Regions from separate parts of the Homo sapiens genome. Here region 1 is linked to region 2. The links are contacts of gene promoters, found by promoter capture Hi-C in blood cells and fetal thymus (Javierre and others, 2016). All regions are on one chromosome and are shown on one strand. The core of a region is centred on a gene start or on the middle of the fragment in contact, and the rest is flanking DNA. Distances in the headings are between cores, read along the strand shown.

Region 1 (2,700 bases), core at 155-2,654, 100 kb after region 2:
GGGAGGCCGAGGCGGGTGGATCACCTGAGGTCAGGAGTTCAAGACTAGCCTGGGCAACATGGTGAAACCACATCTCTACTAAAAATACAAAAATTAGCTAGGCGTGGTGGTGGGCCCCTGTAATCCCAGCTACTTGGGAGGCTGAGGCAGGAGAACCACCTGAACCTGGGAGGCAGAAGTTGCAGTGAGCCAAGATTGTGCCATTGCACTCCAGTCTGGGAGACAGATTGAAACTCTGTCTCAAAAAAAAAAAATCTTAAATCCTGGAAACACATCAAAACAGAACCTCTTTAAAGCATAAATCACACAGGACCTATAAAACAAAAATACAAGTTAAAAAGCAAAAACCAAAACCAAAAAACCCAAGGTACACAGGCAACAAATAGCACAATGAATGCAATGGTACCTCACATTTCAATATTAACATTGAATGTAAATGGCCTAAATGCTCCACTTAAAAGATACAGAACTGCAGAATGGATGAGAACTCACCAACCAACTATCTGCTGCCTTTAGTAGACTCACCTAACACATAAGGACTCACATAAACTTAGAGTAAAGGGATGGAAAAAGAGATTTCTTGCAAGTGGACGCCCAAAGCAAGCAGAGGTAGCTATTCTTATATCAGATAAAACAAACTTTAAAGCAACAGCAGTTAAAAGAGACAAAGAGGGACATTATATAATGGTAAAAGGCCTTGTCCAACAGGAAAATATCACAATCCTAAACATATATGCACCTAACATTGGAGCTCCCAAATTTATAAAACAATTATTAATAGACCTAAGAAATGAGATAGACAGCAACACAATAATAGTGGGGGACTTCAGTACTCCACTGACAGCACTAGACAGGTCAAGACAGAAAGTCAACAAAGAAACAATGGATTTAAACTATACCTTGGAACAAATGGACTTAACAGATATATACAGAACATTTCATCCAACAATCACAGAATACACGTTCTATTCAACAGCGCATGGAACTTTCTCCAAGATAGGCCATATGATAGGCCACAAAATGAGTCTCAATAAATTTAAGAAATTGAAATTATATCAAGTACTCTTTCAGACCACAGTGAAATAGAACTGGAAATCATCTCTAAAAGGAACCTTCAAAACCATGCAAATACATGGAAATTAAATAACCTGCTCGTGAATGAGCACTGGGTCAAAAATGAAATCAAGATGGAAATTTAAAAATTCTTCAAACTAAACGACAATAATGATACAACCTATCAAAACCTCTGGGATACAGCAAAGGCAGTGCTAAGAGGAAAGTTCATAGCCTAAAAGCTTACATCAAAAAGACTGAACAAGCACAAACTGACATTCTAAGGTCATACCTCAAGAAACTAGAGAAACAAGAACAAACCAAACCCAAACCCAGCAGAAGAAAGGAAATGATCAAGATCAGAGCAGAACTAAATGAAATTGAAACAAAAAAATTACAAAAGCTAAATGAAACAAAAAGCTGGTTATTTGAAAAGATAAATAAAATTGATAGAGCATTAACAAGCTTAACCAAGAAAAGAGGAGAGAAAATCCACCAAATAACCTCATTAAGAAATGAAACAGCAGATATTTCAACAGACACCACTAAAATACAAAAGAGCATTCAAAGCTACTATGAACACCTTTATGCACGTAAACTAGAAAACCTAGAAGAGATGGATAAATTCCTGGAAAAGTACAACCCTCCTAGCTTAAATCAGGAAGAATTAGATGTCCTGAACAGACCAATAACAAGCAGCAAGATTGAAATGTTAATTTAATAATTACCAACAAAGAAAAAGTACAGGACCAGATGGATTTACAGCAGAATTCTACCGGACATTCAAAGAATTGGTACCAATCCTTTTGACACTATTCCACAAGATAGAGAAAGAAGGAACCTTCCCTAATTCATTCTATGAAGCCAGCATCACCCTAATACCAAAATCAGGAAAGGACAAAACCAAAAAAGAAAACTACAGACTGATAACCTTGATGAACATAGATGTTAAAATCCTTAACAAAATACTAGCTAACAGAATCCAACAGCGCATAAAAAAGATAATTCACTATAATCAAGTTAGTTTCATACCAGGGATGCAGGGATGGTTTAACATATGCAAGTCAATAAATGTGATACATCACATAAACATAATTAAAAACAAATCACATGATCATCTCAATACACGCAGAAAAAGCATTTGACAAAATCCAGCATCGCTTTATGATTAAAACCCTCAGCAAAATCAGCATACAAGGGGCATACCTTAATGTAATAGAAGCCATCTATGACATACCCACAGCCAACATAATACTGAATGGGGAAAAGTTTAAAGTATTCCCTCTAAGAACGGGAACAAGACAAGGATACTCACTCTCACCACTGCTCTTCAATATAGTGCTGGAAGTCCTAGCAATCAGATATGGGTGCAAAAAGGTGTCTCAGAAGACTTTCCTCCTTATAATAAAAACTCTATCTACCACATCTCCTAGCCACCCAAATAAACACACATTGGCTCTCCCCAATCTCCAGCTTGCTGATTTGAGAATATTGGGACTTCTTAGCCTCCATAATTACATGAACCAATTCCTTATAACAAATCTCTTCTCATACCTAGAGGCACAATTGACACAAACACATTTTTTAAAAATAAGTCTCTTCATATAGATATATGTAGACACACACATACATACACACATCCCATTG
Region 2 (2,700 bases), core at 142-2,641:
TGAATCCTGTTTTTCTCATCAGCAAAATAAGAGACTTGGACTAGAAAATCACAAGGTCCCATCTAACTCTAAAATTCTGTAAGTCAATTAAAAATAGCTGGACTCTGGCCGGGCGCAGTGGCTCATGCCTGTGATCCCAGCACTTTGGGAGGCCGAGGCGGGCGGATCACCTGAGGTCAGGAGTTCGAGACCAGCCTGGCCAACATGGTGAAACCCCGTCTCTACTAAAGATACAAAAATTAGCCGGGCATAGTAGCTCGCCCCTGTAATCCCAGCTACTCGGGAGGCTGAAGCAGGAGAATCGCTTGAACCAGGGAGGCGGAGGTTGCAGTGAGCCGAGATTGCGCCACTGCACTCCAGCCTGGGCGACAAAGCAAGACTCCGTCTCAGAAAAAAAAAAAATAGCTGGACTTCTGAAATGATGTTCATTCACTACCAGAGGAGAAAGAGAAGGAAAACTCAACATGCATTTATATTTAAATCTAAAACCTTTTTAAACCAAGTTAATTTGGCTAGTTATCCATGGCTTTGGACGGTAGAGGTTGAGGGAGTTCAAGTGAAAACGAGAATTCCACATCCCCACTTCAGTGATTGATGTAGATTTACTATGACCTTCCTCAGGCAGTACCTTTACCACCAAATCGGGAAACACTACCTACCGTAGAAAGAAAGCCCAGTGAGATAGGGCTGGTCCTGCTGGAAAACTGAACTCTTTGTAATCAAAACCCAAGGCATTATCTTTACCAAGCTCTTTTCCCCTTTAACCCCTTTAACTTCCAAGGCTGAATTACGGTGACGTAGTCAATTGGGTTCAAAGTCTAGGACACTCCATATCTGGCAAGGAATGAAACAGTAAGTCCAAGGGCCCAGAGGCGATGATGGACTTGGGTGGAGGTGGGTGGCCCAGGAGGTGGGGGTGGGTGCTGGGCGAGATGCTCGAACCACCGTTTTCCACATCTTTCCACCTAATCCAGGGGAGCTGGAGGAGGCCGGGCCCCCGGCCCCGGCAGAGCGAAGTGGGTGAGAGGGTGGCAAGCTCAGCACTCAACGCTCCCCGCGCCGGACCGGGCCTCAGCCTCCAGCACACCTCGCTGGCCCCGGGGCACCGAGAGGGCAGAGCCGGGACCACCCCAGGATCCCAGCCCCCAGCCCGCCGCCGCCAGCCCGCCCCCGCTCCCCGCTGCGCACCTGCGGTCCCCCAGGAGCGGAGACGAGGCGGCCCTTTCCTCACTGTCCCCCTGCAGGACCCGTCGCAGCCTCCGCTTTGCAAAATCTGTCCTCTCCGCCCAGCAGGAGCAGTCCGTGGCACCGCAATCAGGGGTGGCGCCACCCCGCCCCGGGCCTCAGCGAAGACCTCCGCCCGGCCAACATGGCTGGCGCCGCCTCTGCCACGTCAAGAGGAGGGGACGGGGCGTGAGGGCAGGAAGGGGGCAGGAAGGGGCGGGCGCAGAGTTACCAGGGCAGGCCACCGGACCCCTGAGCTTGCTTAATAACCGGAGGATTTGAGAAAGGCGCGCGGCGGGCGAAGGTACCGAGAGGGGAGGAGGGAGGAGAGGTAGCGGGGACCGAGCCAGAGGGGCGGAAGAACCCGGAAGACCCAGGCAGCCGGACGGCCGAGGGGCGTGGGACCGGGCAGAGCGGGACCGGGAGAGAGCGCCTTTCCCAGCTCCCTAAAGCCACAGCGTATCCCACTCCCTGCAGGTCGCAGAAAGAGTGGAGAACTGGTGCCACTCGGACACCTTAGCTCACCGAGAGAAATGGAGACGGCCTCCAGGACATCTTAGGACCCTGGTTGATTCCGAGAATCACAAATCACATCTCTGAAAAAAGTGAAAAGTTCATTCTTTCACTTAGTGCAACAAATGTTTACTGAAACTTACTATGTGCCAGACACAATTGAGATGCTGGTAATATGATGCAGGCAAAGTAGGCCCAGATCCCTGGCCCGAAAGAATTCACGTACTATTTATGTATTTTAGTCAGCCTGTCTTTTCCTCCTACATTGCCTCTGCCACTTCAACTCTGTCTCCCCCCACCCCCAAAACACACACACAGTACAATATTTGGCTGATTCATCTTGATATGTTCAATGTTTTTCTTTCCAAGAAAAAAGTTGAACAAAATGAGAAAGCAACAGATTGGTAAGACATTAGAGCTTGGTGGTCTCAGACAACCCCTTCCTTCAGTGAGGGGAATGAAATTAAGTGCCCATGGAATTAATTGCATATATGACAACGCCTAAAAGCCTGCAAAGTTTAGCCATATCAACATTTTATGGAATGGAAAAAAAGATCAAGTCCCTGTCCTTGAAAGCTCATATTCATGAGAAATAAGACAGCAGCACCAGGCTGGGCGCGGTGGCTCACGCCTGTAATCCCAACACTTTGGGAGGCGGAGGCAGGCGGATCACAAGGTAAGGAGTTCGAGACCAGCCTGGCCAACATAGTGAAACACCGTCTCTACTAAAAATACAAAAATTAGCCGGGTGTGGTGGCACGCTCCTGTAGTCCCAGCTACTCGGGAGGATGAGGCAGAAGAATTGCTTGAACCCGGGAGGCGGAGGTTGCAGTGAGCCGAGACCACGCCATTGCACTCCAGCCTGGGTGACAGAGTGAGACTGTCTCAAAAAAAAAAGCACCAAACATATTTCCCTTTCTATAATGTGTGTACTAAAGTTGTTTTGGAAGGTGGAAGAGGATG

What was found. The method cuts DNA at HindIII sites, captures the fragments that hold promoters and counts their contacts. A CHiCAGO score of 5 or more calls a contact.
Region 1: a fragment that was not itself captured here is called in contact with the fragment with the promoter of SEC23A in region 2 in 1 of 17 cell types (total CD8 T cells); the score reaches 5.2 in total CD8 T cells.

Annotation. Positions count from the first base shown.
Region 1 is chr14:39,206,288-39,208,987 of GRCh38, forward strand. It overlaps the pseudogene LOC100313942. Among named protein-coding and RNA genes, the nearest start is that of MIA2, 26 kb to the right of the region's middle. The HindIII fragment of the contact is 223 bases long and covers 1,294-1,516 here.
Region 2 is chr14:39,101,844-39,104,543 of GRCh38, forward strand. It overlaps SEC23A (SEC23 homolog A, COPII component), which reads right to left and starts at 1,392. Exons shown (of 20, transcript NM_006364.4): 1 at 1,189-1,392. It overlaps SEC23A-AS1 (SEC23A antisense RNA 1), which reads left to right and starts at 1,297. Exons shown (of 2, transcript NR_146545.1): 1 at 1,297-1,528; 2 at 1,702-1,969. RefSeq lists silencers at 998-1,077, 1,098-1,217, 1,378-1,607. The HindIII fragment of the contact is 19,881 bases long and covers 1-2,700 here.